Linked DNA regions of Homo sapiens: regions 2 and 3 are each linked to region 1. The links are contacts of gene promoters, found by promoter capture Hi-C in blood cells and fetal thymus (Javierre and others, 2016). All regions are on one chromosome and are shown on one strand. The core of a region is centred on a gene start or on the middle of the fragment in contact, and the rest is flanking DNA. Distances in the headings are between cores, read along the strand shown.

Evidence for each region. Contacts are between HindIII fragments. The CHiCAGO score rates a contact against its expected background, and 5 or more counts as called.
Region 2: a fragment that was not itself captured here is called in contact with the fragment with the promoter of BST1 in region 1 in 2 of 17 cell types (neutrophils and total B cells); the score reaches 5.5 in neutrophils.
Region 3: a fragment that was not itself captured here is called in contact with the fragment with the promoter of BST1 in region 1 in 1 of 17 cell types (naive CD4 T cells); the score reaches 5.3 in naive CD4 T cells.

Annotation. Positions count from the first base shown.
Region 1 is chr4:15,699,966-15,704,954 of GRCh38, reverse strand. BST1 (bone marrow stromal cell antigen 1) reads right to left here and starts at 1,890. Exons shown (of 9, transcript NM_004334.3): 1 at 1,623-1,890. The coding sequence starts at 1,810. RefSeq lists a silencer at 1,872-1,951. The HindIII fragment of the contact is 13,056 bases long and covers 1-4,989 here.
Region 2 is chr4:15,230,151-15,235,139 of GRCh38, reverse strand. All of the region lies in intron 2 of C1QTNF7-AS1 (C1QTNF7 antisense RNA 1), which reads left to right. Among named protein-coding and RNA genes, the nearest start is that of C1QTNF7-AS1, 200 kb to the left of the region's middle. The HindIII fragment of the contact is 2,640 bases long and covers 1,618-4,257 here.
Region 3 is chr4:15,975,409-15,980,397 of GRCh38, reverse strand. It overlaps PROM1 (prominin 1), which reads left to right. Exons shown (of 28, transcript NM_006017.3): 25 at 494-517; 26 at 935-1,003. Among named protein-coding and RNA genes, the nearest start is that of FGFBP2, 15 kb to the right of the region's middle. The HindIII fragment of the contact is 2,916 bases long and covers 1,344-4,259 here.

The DNA.
Region 1 (4,989 bases), core at 641-3,140:
GTAACACAGGTGGTTCTCTGCTGTTTCTTATTTGCCTGAAATGTGCGACAATAAAAATGATCAGCACAAGAAAGACATCACAAACATAAGAAAAGGGGGGCCACAGAAGGAACAAAAATCAGTAAGAAATGCAGCACTGGCAAGAAAGACCCAAACTTCAGAAATCCTCCAGATTTAGGGGATCTGAAATTTGAATTCTGGAAGGACTGGACTCAAGGAATTCCAACCTGAGATCACATTCTGGGTTCTGAGTATTCAGACTAAACATCTGCTGGGTGGCAATGGGCTGTTACCCAGTTCACCTCTACCCCACCCTCACTTCTAGAGGGATACCTCTCCACCCTCCTTCACACTCACACACACCTCTCACCTCTAGACCACACACACATCCCTCACCTCTAGACCACACACACATCCCTCACCTATAGACCACACACACACACCTGTCACCTCTAGACTACACACACACACCCCTCACCTCTAGAACAAACACACACACATCTCACCTCTAGAACACACACACAACTCACCTCTAGAACACACACACACACACATCCCTTACCTCTAGAACACACACACCTCTCACTTCTAGAACACACACACCCATCATCTCTAGAACACACACATCTCACCTCTAGAACACACACCCCTCAACTCCAGAACACACACACACCCCTCACCTCTAGAACACACATACACACCTCATCTCTAGAACACACACTCTCCTCAGCTCTAGAATACACATACACCCCCTCACCTCTAGAACACACACACCCCTCACCTCTAGACCACACACACATCCCTCACCTCTAGACCACACACACATCCCTCACCTATAGACCACACACACACACCTGTCACCTCTAGACTACACACACACACCCCTCACCTCTAGAACACAGATACACACACACCTCTAGAACACATGCACGCACCCCTCACCTCTAGAACACACACACACACATCTCACCTCCAGAACACACACACCCCTCACTTCTAGAACACACACACCCCTCACCTCTAGAATACACACACCCCTCACCTCTAGAGCGCACGCACACACACCCCCTTCACCTCTAGAACACACATGCACACACCCCTCACCTCTAGAACACACATACAGACACCTCACCTCTGGAACACACACACCCCTTACCTCTAGAACACACACACACATCTCACCTTTAGAACACACACACACACCCCTCACCTCTAGAGCACACACACACACACACACCCCCACCTCTAGAGCACACACACACACATCCACCTCTAGAGCACACACACACCTCCCACCTCTAGAGCGCGCGCACACACACACCCCCCTCACCTCTAGAACACACGCACACACCCCTCACCTCTACAGTGTGTGTGTGCGCGCACACACACACACTCATCTCTAGACCCCGCACAGCGCACCCCTCACCTGCAGACACACTTCACAGCCCCCTCCTCACTCGCCCCCATCGTTCAGGACCATCGCTGTCTCCACACTCACCTCTCCCCTCAAGGCCTCTCTCATTGCCCCCTCACCCCGAACTTTAGCGCCAGTTTTCCCCTCCCCAGGCCCTCCCCACCGTTGCCTCTTTCCGGCTCCCCTTCCACCCGGCCGACTGCCTCACCGCTGCTCGGGACTCAGCAGTGCGCGGTACTCGGCGCAGCGGCCCAGGAAGATGTCCCGCAAGTGTGCGCTGGTGCCCTCCCCGCGCCACCGCGCGCGCGCCCCGCCCGCCGCCAGCAGCAACAGTAGAAGCAGAAGCTGCAGCAGCAGCTGGAGCAGCCGCGATGCCGCGCACCCCTGGGCCGCCATCGGGGAACTTTGGTCCCTCCAGTCCCGTGCTTCCTCCACTCCCCTTCTCTCCTTCTACCAAGGCGGTTCCGCAAACTGATGCAGGGCGGGACTCTCGCTCGGATATCTCGCTGTTTGCCGTTTCCCGTTCCAGACAATTTCAAGACTGAGCGTGGGGCGGGGCGCGGCGGCTCATGCCTGTAATCCCAGCACTTTGAGAGGCCTAGACGGGCGGATCGCTTGAGTATAGGAGTTCGAGACAAACCTGAGTAACATACAGGTGAGAAACCTCCTCTCTACAAAAAAATACAAAACTTAGCTGGTCCTGGTGGTGCGCATCTGTAGTCTCAGCTACCTGCGAGGTGAGATGTGAGGAGGCTTGACCCCAGGGGATCGAGGCTGCAGCGAGCAGTGATTGCACCACTGCACTCCAGCCCTGGGCGACAGAGTGAGACTCTGTCTAAAAAAAAAATTAATAAATAAATAAAATTAAAAAAGAGTGAGCTTGGAACATCACCCAGGACAGGACCAGTGCACTGTGGCCCAGGCTAATCTTGACCGCTGTCCACGGGGAGGGAGCCCCAAAGAAGCCGCAAGGTTGAAGGAGAGGTGAGGAGAGGTCAGTCATCATCAGAAGAAATACTTTTCTGGCTCCAAAGGACGACAACTTTGACAGATGCCCTCTTTCACACCAACCAATAAGTGGTGTTTGTTTGTTTTCAGGAAATAATAACCACAACAACGTGCCAAGCACTTTGCAAGTATAATATTAATTACTTTCCGCAACACCCTTCCTAGCTAAGTTTGTAATTTCTCTCGCTTTAGCAATGGATAAACTCAGGGAAGTTAAGCATGTTCGGCCCTCCAGATTTGCGGATTCATCATCCAAATTCAGCTAACCACGGATGAGAAACATTTGAGGAAAAAAAGAATGCTTGCATCTGTACGGAACATGTACGGACTTTTTTTTCCTTGTCATCATTCCCTAAATAATCCAATGTAACAACTACTTATGTAACAATTACATAGTACTTGATATTACAAGGAATCTGGAGATGACGTGAATTATAGAAGAGGATGTGCAAATACTGTATACTACACCATTTAATATAAGGGCCTTGAGCATCTGTGGATTTTGGTATCCAGGAGGTTCCTGGAACCAATTCTCCATGGATACCTACCGCCGACTGTAACTTGTCAGAGGTCACAATATCCCTTCCTGATAGATGCAAAATCCTGGAGATGTTCAGTTTAAGAGAGCCAGGATTGGCCGGGCGCGGTGGCTCACACCTGTAATCCCAGCACTTTGGGAGGCCGAGGCGGGTGGATCACGAGGTCAAGAGATCGAGACCATCCTTGCTAACACGGTGAAACCCCGTCTCTACTAAAAATACAAAAGATTAGCCAGGCGCGGTGGCGGGCGCCTGTTGTCCCAGCTACTCGGGAGGCTGAGGCGGGAAAACGGCGTGAACCCAGGAGGCAGAGCTCGCAGTGAGCCGAGATCGGGCCACTGCACTCCAGTCTGGGCAACAGAGTGAGACTCCGTCTCAAAAAAAAAAAAAAAAAGAGCCAGTATTAATAGAATACCACGTGGAGGCCCAAGTCCTCAATTCTTACAATAATGACAGCAATGAACTTTGAGTGCCTGGCAAGCACTTGATAAACACAAGGGAGGACAGAACAGGTGTTCTCTACTGTTTTATTTGAATCTCTTTTTTTCTGTAACCAAAACCCGCATTCTCCTGTTCAGTTCCTCCTTAAGTTAAATCCACTTTCCAGAGGAAAGCATTTTTAATTCTTTCAAGTTTTGTTCCTGTGTTTACTTCCATATTTCTAAATAACATGTGTGAACCCGCAAATTTTGAGACAGGTCTCAATTAATTTAGAAAGTTTATTTTAGCAAGGTTGAGGACACGTGTCCATGACACAACCTCAGGAAGTCCTGACGACATGTACCCAAGGTGGTCAGGGCACAGCTTGGTTTTATACATTTTAGGGAGACATGAGATATCAATCAATATATGTAAGAAGTACATTGGTTCTGTCCAGAGAGGCGGGGACAACTCGAAGCACGGAGGGGGCTTCCAGGTCTCAGGTAGGTGAGAGACAAATGGTTGCCTTCTTTTGAGTTTCTGATAAGCCTTTCCAAAGAAGGCCATCAGAATATGCATATATCTCAGTGAGCAGCTGAATGACTTTGAATAGAATGGGAGGCAAGTTTGCCCTGAGCAGTTCCCAGCCTGACTTTTCCCTTTAGTTTAGTAATTTTGGGGCATCCCTGGCATGGCTCGTCCCACCAAATCTAATGTGAAATTGTAATCCCCAACGTTGGAGGTGGGGCCTGGTGGGAGGTGATTTTATCATGGGTGTGGGTTTCTCAAGAATAGTCTAGCACCATCCCCTTGTTGCTATTCTCATGATAGTAAGTGAGATCTGGTTGTTTTAAACTGTGTAGCACTGGCAGGGCGCCGTGGCTCACACCTGTAATCACAGCAGTTTGGGAGGCTGGTGTGGGGGGTGTGTTGGGAATCACGGATCGAGACCATCCTGGCCAACATGGTGAAACCCCATCTATACTAAAAATACAAAAATTAGCTGGGCGTGGTGGCACGCACCTGTAGTCCCAGCTCTTCGGGAGGCTGAGGCAGAAGAATCGCTTGAACCTGGGAGGCGGAGGTTGCAGTGAGCTGAGATCTCACCACTGCACTCCAGCCTGGTGACAGAGTGAGACTCTGTCTCAAAAAAAAAAAAAAAAGAAGTGTGTAGCACCTCCTCCCTCTCTCTTGCTCCCTGCTGCCACCGTGTAAGACCCATTGCTCCCCCTTTGCCTTCCACCACATTTGGAAACTTCCTGAAGCCTCTCCAGATGCAGAAGCCACTATGCTTCCTACAGCCTGCAGAACTGTGAGCCAATTCAACCTCTTTTTCTTATAAATGAGCAGTTTCAGGTATCTATAGCAATGCAAGAACAGACTAATACAATACCTATATGCTATTTCTTGATGTTTCTGTTTGGGACATTATTCTGTTTGGGACATTATGACATTTTATTTGTTGTAAACCTCTTGTTTACCCTGGAGGTAATCATTATCTAGAAAGTAACTAGCTTGCTTTTGATATTACAGGCTCATAGGCAGAAGGCATTTGCCTTGTCTCAGATGAAACTTTGAACTGTGGACTTTTGGGCTAATGTTGAAGTT
Region 2 (4,989 bases), core at 1,688-4,187, 470 kb after region 1:
TCAAGTTGTTTCTTAGTTGTTTTTGGTCATTTCCCTAACAGACATTATCAAAAATATAACAGGAGAAAAGCCAAGGCAAGAAGGACTTCATTTTGTCTTCAGTGATTTTTTGCTCAGTGATGACTGTGTTTTCTTCTGCACTATGCGATGAGCTGGCTGATGTGGCTACAGCTGGGATAATCAGCTGCAACATGGAAAACCCAAAACCACAGCATCTGGGGAGCTTTCCAAAGGCTAATTGGAATTGTTTACCGTGGGCTTTCTTCTTAAATGATTCATTACTCTACAAAACCAGTATGACTAAATTAAATTGTAAATGTGTCCATCATAAAAGGCTAGGAAATACCTCTTTTATTTGCTTCCCATTTCAGCATTACAGTGGAGTTGGAAAAGTGCTTCGCTGTTATCAGCAGCAATATTTGCTGTGAGTTTTTCATAGACCATGGGTGCCTGACCTGTCTATAGAAAAATAAATTTCATTTTACCAAAGTCTTGAGATCATCTAGAGCAGAAGTGGTTGGGAAATAGGCAGATGGGTATAAGCATGGATTTTGCCTCTTTCAGTTACTGTGACTTTGGGAAGGTTGTGGAAACCTCCCCAGGTTCTATTTCCTCTTTTGTAAACTACAGACGACAGTATCCAATCAAGGGTTACTGAGGGGTTTAAGTGGGAGAATAAATAATGAGCACCTGGCACTTAGTAGCTGTTCAGTAAATCCTGTCTTTCTCCCAGAGATTGGCAGCAAAGAGCCTGGGATCCCTGTATTATCCTCCTCCCTCATGAACTCTAGAAGACAGTGAGAGAGAGAGAGAGAGAGAGAGTGAGCGAGCGTGTGTACGGGAGGAAGTGATCATCTAGTGGGAGAGTCACTGCAGATTAGTCAGAGACCTTAAAGATGGGAATATTTCAATCTCCTCGCTTCCAGTCAGAGGTCAAATTCAAGGTTGCAGGAAGGGAGATGACATGTCAGAAGCCCGCTAGCCAGCAGGAGATGGAGCCAGGACTCAGACCTGCTCCTTTGCCATAGTTTAGGCCATGAAAGTTTTCTCCCGAATGATAATAGGCATTATTTATTGAGCACATACTAGGTGCCAGACATTTACAACAACCTTGTGAGAAAGGCTTTATAACTTGCATTTCATTGATGAGGACACTGAGGCTCAGAGAGGCAAAGTTACCTGGCAGAGTCATATAGTCACCCAGGGTATGTTGTGAAGCACCCCCTGGTATACCAGACTTCAAAGCCTTTGTTCATCACACTGTTTGACACTGCTGGAAAGAGGCTCTGAGATTTACCAGCATGCTTCAGTTTCAGAGGTCAGAACATGTGCAGATGAACTAACGGCAGAGGATTCGTAAGCCGAGCCTTTTCTGTTCATTTGTTCCGTACCACATGTAAAAGTTCAATCAGCAAAATCACCTCCGGCCAGCAAAAGAACCACTTCCTGCCCATCTTTTTAGATTGTGTTCTCCTGATGATTTTCAAGGGGGCTCAGAGCCCAGATTAATTCAACAGAATAACAGAGCAAACCAGCTTCATTCCCACAAACATCACGTCCAAGTTGCTATGAGGTGACTTCAGTTCATTATCCGGTTGAGCCTGGAATGGGCAAGCTTCAGGGTGTCCCCACACCCACGGCAGACCCAGGCTCTTGGTGCCCAGATGGAAGGGTGGAAACAGAAGGTCCAGCCCATCTGTCTAATGGTTGTCCCTTGGCCAGCTAGTGGGATCTCCTCAAGAGCTTTGTGTGGCAGCTGCCTCAGCCTGGAAAGAGCTTGGCAAATTAGAAAGGAAAACAAACCCAAAGAGGAAACGCTGCTTGCAGCCCAGGCAGCTTTTGCATTATCACTTTCTCCTCTTTTGTGCTGAGTTTCAGATCTGTGACTTTCAAACAAAAGGGTTTTCTGGCCCAAACCTCCAGCTCGTTGTGAAAAAACCATGCACAAAAGTGGATTCAGCTGGCACAGCCCGTGTGACCTTGTGCCCGTGACTCCACAGCTCCTCTGTTTTCAGTGGGGAAGGAGAGCACAGTAATGAAACACAGGGTGGCTTTGCCATTTCCCAGCGATATGGCCTTGGACAAACATCTTGCCTTCTTTTGACTTCAATATCCATGTCTACAGTAGAAAACAGTAACAGCACTCACTTCAAAGGCTGTCAGGGAATTAAATGAGCTCACAAGTATGGAATCCTTAGAACAATCCTGAGTTCCTGCTGCATGCCCTGTGGGTTCAATGTACACTGTTATTATATTTTCTCATCAGTAAAACGAGAATAGTAATAGCACTTGCGTAGGATTGTTGTGAGGTTCAAATGACCACATGTTTCTGAAGAACTTAGTACACAGTGGGTGCTAGGAACTAAATACCAGATCTCATGCAGAGAGGCTGAGCAGAGATGCCTTTAAGAGGGTTGATTTGGAGACCTTGAATGCAGACAGCCAAGTCTGGTCTCTGCCAATTACCAAATAAGAATTAGACAGATCAGGTCATTAACTTATGCAGTTGATAGTTCCAGGAGGTGATATTTGAGGAAAATGAAAAAGTCAGGCAGGCAGCAGGGTGTGTGGTGAAAACACAGTGGGCTGGGGTCAGAAGTCCTGGCTTGGAATCCTGACGCGACCGTCTGGATGTAGGTAGCCTTGGGCAAATCTCTTCTTCACTTTGGCTTCAATTTCTTCTTCTGTAAAAGGAGAATTTGGTGATGTCCCAAATTCCTTCTAATGCTAATACCAGATAATTTAATGTTATTTTCGGGCATCACTCCCATTCACTGCTAGTGGGAATGATAAAACAATAAATTTATTCAAGTGAATAATTTAGCGTAATCTAGTTCATATGAAGATATGCACGTCCACCTCCATTATGGTGTGTCTCAATAATTTTATACCTGTTCATTCAAAAAATATTTATTGAACCCTAATTATGTCCCAGGTGCTGTTCTAGTAGCTAGGGATACTCCAGTGAACAAAACAGATAAAAATCCCAGCTGTCAAGGAGTTTATGTTCCAACAAGGTAGACAAATCACTCACAAGAAAAAAATTTAAAAAATAAGTGCTTAAGGGAAACTGAAAAAGTAGGGAAGGTTGTGGTTTTGGATGGGGTGTGTCTGTTTCCCCACTGGATGGGAGCATGGCCTCATCCAGGGCGGTACCTGGCACGCAGTAGTTTCTGATTAAAGGTTAGGTGAACAAATGCCCAAATGAGCAGACCCTGAGTCCTGAAAAGACTGATTTGATGCACATGTGTGTAGTCTGCGTATTTTTATCTGAAATGAATTAGCACCAGCAGTTTCCAGAGCAGAGCTGAAATGATTACATTACCATTATTTTAAATCTGAGAAGCACTAGGGAATGAGAACCACATCCTCCTCCCAAACCAGGCCAAACAGAGGAGGCCACAGAGCGGCCTTATTTGCACATTGCTGCCCCCTGGTGCTGGTATAAAAATATGGCCACATTTGCTTACCTCTAGGGTAAAATGAATTAGGCTGGTGCAAAAGTAATTGCGGGCTTGGCCATTGAAAGTAATGACAAAAACTGCAAATACTTTTACACCAACCTAATATCAGTGAGCACACAGCACCATCACTGAAGTATTGGGATTAAATTGTCAGTGTGGTGATGACCACGTTTGTCAAATCCAAAAGTCTGTACAGTATGGCCTTAAGGGGGCAGTGGCTAGAATATTAAGGACTATTTCAGATAAGTCAGTGCAATGATTTTATTTTCACGATGACACATGATGTCTGCTCAGATATCACTTTTTGGGAGTTTATAACTATCCAAATGGATCAGAGCTCATAGAAACCTAAGCTATTTCCTAGTCATAGGACTCCGGGAATGTTTCTTAAGGAGTTCATGTGTAGACTTCAGGGACCATCTGACCTTCTGTTTGAGAACAATGTTCCCCAAATGTGTAAGGAAGTGTTAGATCTAAATAACTGAGGAGTGCTGGGCCAGTTGCCCAAGGTGAGTCCTCCACGAAATGAGACACTTGTGTTCACTTAGCACAGTGGTTCCAGTTTGAATTCTATTTCGTTTATACACACATTCCCCATTTTACCTCATATCAAGGTGGCTGGTAATCAGGTAGTTTCCTAACCACCCTAAGTCCTTGTTTTCTCATCTAAAAACAGGAGAAAAATAATACTTACTAAATAAGGTTTAATCAAAAAGAAAATAGTCATGTGAAAGAAAGTAATAAAATATCAGGCACCCATTAGATGCTTAATAAATGCTTTTAAAAGCAAGCTTGGGAAACACTGACATTGATGGAAACTTACAAAGCATTTCAAGATTCGTCAGTGACAGGAAGACTTCTCTGATGAATTATTCCTGGCACTAAGGTCATTGTAAGATAATGAACACTATCAAACAGTGAAAAATCCTAATAAACTTTGTTTTATTCCAGGTGTGTTTCTATCAGAGTACTTTGAAAACCATTACATTGAAAATGTTGCTATCTTTTGTGTTTGAAGATAACACTATTTGCCCAATTTCTTTTTTTCTTTGGTTCTGATTGAAAATAGTATTATATTATAAAAACTAATGTTTCCTACATTGGGCACCCACAAAAACTGCCTTGGGGCCTGCATCTTAGGGTTCTGCTATGGGATAAATGTTTGTATCTTCCTAAAATTCATGTGTTGAAACCTAACCACCAATGTGATGGTAGTAGGAGGTAGAAATACCGTAAGGTGAGAATGTTTAGTGTCTTATAAAACAGACCGCAGAGAACTGCGCTGCCTCTTCCGCCATGTGTGGACAGAGCAAGAAGGCACCACCTATGAACCAGAAAACAGTCCCCCACCAGAGAGTGGATCTGCAGTGCCCTGATCTTAGACTTCCTCCAGAATTGTGAGCAATAAATTTCTGCTGTTTATTAGCTATCTAGTTTTTGGTATATTTTATGGAAGCCCAAGTGAACTAAGATGGGTTTCTATTTGTAGAATCAACTGCTTTTCCTCTTAAAAAAATTGTAGGTT
Region 3 (4,989 bases), core at 1,552-4,051, 270 kb before region 1:
GTGGGGGTCATTTTCTAGGTGGTGCTGTCTTCAAAGAGTTGCTAAAGATGAGTTCTGATGAGGTTAAAGTTGATTTCTTTTTTTTTTTTTTTTTAGTAGTAGTTGGGTCACTTCTGTTCAGGTGAATTTTTTTTTCTTGGTACTGATTTTTCTATACTTGTTTTAACTACTTTTTTCCTCTTGCTTAATCCTCTCAGCTTCCCTAACCAGCCTTTTTATTTCTTGTTTGCAGTTCCTCTCTCTCGGGGACCTGGCATTTCACTTTATGATAACTGTTTTTACACTTTCCATTTTGGCTCTGTAGTCTGCCCCTCATTCTGTGTCTGGTGAATGTGTATGCCTTGTTTTTCACTTCACTTATCTTTCAACATGGGTCTTTCCTGAGTTTGCACTGTCAGTATCCGTGTTAGAGTAAATATTTGGGGGATGTAGTTGCTGAGCTTTCATAATAATTAAAAAAATTAATTTTATCTCCCTTTTTTGTATTTTATAGTGTTGAAACTATACCCATGAAAAAGTAAGCCTTTTTAAAAAAACTATATTCCTAGATGGGATGGGGGAGGTTGATATTATTATGTAATGGACTTTAAAAATTAAGTTATTAACATCTTAAAATTATGTAGAAACAGCAGATCTGTACAGGCAAAAATAAATTGCAATGGTCTTAAAAAGAGGGTTGGCACATAGAGGGTGCTCAAGAAATACTTGATGAATTAATGAAATTTTATATGTTAAGTTTATTAATCTATAAAGTAGTCCTTTGGTCTTTGAAGTTTAAAAGGAGCAAAATGTCAATTACTCATTTGTCTTTTTTTTAGATTTAACAAATTGTTACATACTTTTCATGACCATTACATTGTCTTTGTAATCCATGATGTAAATACTTCATCTTAGAGATAACATGGTGTTTTTGGTGTATTTATTTCTGTTACAGTATGGAAAATGGTAATAATGGTTATCATAAAGATCATGTATATGGTATTCACAATCCTGTTATGACAAGGTAAAGCAAAGTCTGGAAGTGCATGCCCGCCCTATGATAAACCGTCTCATCTCCTATAGATCAGCACTGAATTTTCTGCATGCTGCTGATGCCTTCACTTCTCTCTGTATGATACTTTATCAATGCTAGTCTCCAATCATGCTCTACATAGTGTTCCATGATGCCATGAGTTTAAATGTTCAGTCGATTTCTAAACAATGGAATTATTCAGCAACTAAAATTTGGTGTCATCTTAAAATGCTATGTATGGCTGTAGATCATTACAGATTAAATGCATGCATACCTTGCATTTAGAATTTCTCTGCACCAAATAACCTGAGTAGTTACAGTTTTCAAAGCTTTTCCTTCCTTCCTTCTTTCTTTCCTTCCTTCCTTCCTTCCTTCTTTCCTTCCTTCCTTCCTTTTTTCCTTCCTTCCAATAAATTAACTGTAACCAACCAGAAAAAGAACCTCAATTATTCCTCCGAAATCTTTATGAATTTACATTCTCTAGAATTAAGGAGCTTCTGTGGTTCTGGATATATCATATGTCAGGTAACTCTGAGCTTTGCTTGCCAGAGGTCGGTCCTCTTCTGAGGCTCTACTAAGAATTCAGACCCACACGTCAGCCAGGGACCTATCTGCTTATAAGAGGTGGAGACATAGTGTGCAGGGCAGCAGGGCAGCAGTGGGCTGTCCTCTTCAGTGGGCGTGATCCTTCCCACGCCCATACAGCTGGCCCGCCAGTGCTCCCCCGAGCCCGCTCCCCACAGTGATGTCTCAGATGCAAAAGGGTGAGTCTAACGTTGGTGCATGGGGGAGATCCACCTTAGAAGGCCCACGCTCCACATGGGAGGCATCCAGTTAAAAGTGCCCACATTCAGGTAAGCCCACAGCTTTGGCTTCACACCAGGTATTTATATTTAGAGCCTCCCAGGCCAGAAGCTGCTTACCAGTCAGGCACATCCTTATCTTAAGCAATATTACCTAGTAACAGTTGATGCTCCACCTTGGTCAGATTTCAAGATGAACAGAACCAGAAAGTCATTAAAATTTGTCCTTTCAAGAGGTAAATGGCTTCCTGAACTTAAAACTTTGAACATTGTAAAAAAATCAGAACTTTTCATTATGATTTTCCATTTAGGGGAAGAGAAGTTAACTGAGTGCATTCCAGCTGCTATAATGAAATGCCTTAAACTGGGTAGCTTATAAACATCAGGGTTTATTTCTCACAGTTCTGGAGGCTGGAATACAAGATCAAGGTGCCATCAGATTCGGTGTCCGGTGAAGGACCACTTTCTCATAGGTGGCGTTGTCTTGCCAAATCCTCACATGGTGGAAAGGGCAAGCTGGCTCCTTGGGGTCTATTCTCTAAGGGCGTTAATGAGAGACTAATGAGGGCTTTGCCTTCATGACCTAAAGCGTCACCGTGATTATGACGTCAATGTATGAATTTTAAGAGTGCACAAACATTCAGATCAGAGAAGAAATGGTGATAATTAAAAAAATCAAGTTCTTGGCCAAGCGCGGTGGCTCATGCCTGTAATCCCAGCACATTGGGAAGCCGAGGCGGGTGGATCACGAGGTCAGGAGATCAAGACCATCCTGGCTAACACGGTGAAACCTTGTCTCTACTAAAAATACAAAAAATTAGCCAGGTATGGTGGCACACGCCTGTAGTCCCTGCTACTTGGGAGGCTGAGGCAGGAGAATCACTTGAACCCGGGAGGCAGAGGTTGCAGTGAGCTGAGATCGTGCCACTGCATTCCAGCCTGGGTGACAGAGGGAGACTCTGTCTCTAAATAAATAAATAAAGTCATGAAATGGCAAATTGACTTCATCTCATCTGATACTTCCAGTATGCAAGGCTTGGTGGCTAGAGTGCTGTGTTGTGACAGAGTTGAAGATCGATTTAAGTATCAATTAGCCAGGTGTGCTCTGGGGAGAGTAGACAGTACGGCTGCCTGCATAATGTCCTGGCCTTCCTTTTTGCGGTGTAGCATGCTTGGAGGGTGTCTTATATATATGGACTGAAATTTTCAAGATCAGAGGACAGCTGTTCTCAATTACCTATGTTGCCCTAACATCGGATCTTCTAGGACTGCTTTGAATTTGTAGAATTGCTTCCTGGTGTTTGCCTGTTGGTTGTGAAGGCACTGAAAGTACTCTCTGTTCTAAGAAGAGTCATCCAGGCTGCCTGGAAGATGCTAGAGAGAGAGATGCAAGCCTGGGTGGAGGCTGCCACAGGCAGGCTTTCTGGAAGCAGTGCTCAAATGGAGTTTGGAGTGCAGGATGTTTATGAGGAGCCATGGTTGTGAAAAAAAGGGGGAGAAGTCAAGGTTGGCCTGCCAAAGCCTTGGCCCGACTAGGCAGGAGCTCTGGATCAAGCATGGCCTGTAGGGAGTTGCCCACACTGGGCTAATCATTACAGATTAGCTAAGTCTTTGCACCCCCTCCTCCCCCAGTCACTGCTCCCAGGGCTGGAGCAGCACTGCCATAGAGCTGTAGGCTCTGCTGTCAGAGTGGTAGGCTCTGACAGCTGGAGGCTCTCTGCTGACCATGCTGCCCCCAGCTGGAGGCAAGTCATTCCTAAAAGGGAATCTAGAAGGCACAACTCCACGGCTCCCTGAGAAGCAGATGCACTGGTAGGCCTGGAAGAATGTGCTGCATCCAATAAGTCCTCCTGCAATTGAAAGGGAGGTGTCAGTGTGCAAGTTGACAAGACAGCCTTTGAGATGCCAGGGTCCTCTCAGCACACCAGTACTGCCACAGACCTTTGTCACTTAGGCATGATCATCACAGCCAACTGGACTCTGGCTAATCCCCAGCTTCAGATCTGAGTGCTGGAAATAGGCAGGCGTCAGCTGTCTTCTGTCTTATGCCACCACGTGAGACCTTTCCCACAAAGGAGGGTAGACTTCCAGTTCTAGCATCTAGAAGAGAATAACCGAGCACCTATTAGTGCCACAGATGTCCTGCGTGTAGCGTCAAAGACTTAATTCTCTAGGCTCAAGAAGGTTGTCGTAGCTCTCCTTATTTACTAGTTTTTACTCACATTGCTGGAACAGCATAAGACTTGATAACTCTTGGATTTAACTTGCTGTACAAGAAAAAAGGCATGATGATGGAAAACAGGAAAATGTTAGAAAACAGCCCTAGTCGGTGTTGAGAAATGCCACTCTTCTCACTTGCTAATGAACATTTCATCTTGGGCTTTTAGTGTTGAAATTCGAACTAGATTAAATGCCATTGTTCTATTAAATACATAAATGAAGCTTTAGGATGATTCTGTGGTCATTCTGCTTACGACAGACATTGGAAGGACTTGTCTTTGTTAAGGGCCTAGCACTTCATACACCTGTGAAGCCTGGGGCTAGGGATATACTAATGTTGGACGTCCTTCCTTAACGGTCCACAGCACACTTGAATTTTTTTCTACTTTCTATATTCTGTGTTCTATAGTAGAACTCCAAGGGTGGGTTGAAGTGTTTTGTTTCAGTAAGAGAAGAATCCCAAAGACTGAGTGACACCTTATGTGAGTTTCGCTGAAGCATCTTTCATGGTAACAATTAAATCGAGACTTGTTTTCATTCCTGCACACCCACCTCCAGTGGGAACCCTGGCAAGTCTCCTGGATGTTCAGCCCGTCTACAGGCAGTCAGTGAAGAATCATAGTTTTGATTTGGTTTATTTGCAGAAGGTTAGGAAATGACATCCCAGAAACTCTAGGGACATTGGGACACCTTTCTTTTCCACCCAGACCCTCCTAGAGGTCCCAGGGGTCTGAGTTGGAGTGGATTCTAGCTCTGCCTCCATGTGTCATTGTGGAAGTGCTATTTAATGTCCTTGAGACTCAGTTTTCTCACTTGTAGAAGGAGGGAATAATAAGAGCTTTGAGGCTGGGTGTGGTGGCTCACGCCTGTAATCCCAGCACTTTGGGAGGCCAAGGCAGGCAAATCACAAGGTCAGGAGTTTGAGACCAGCCTGGCCAACATGGTGAAACCTCA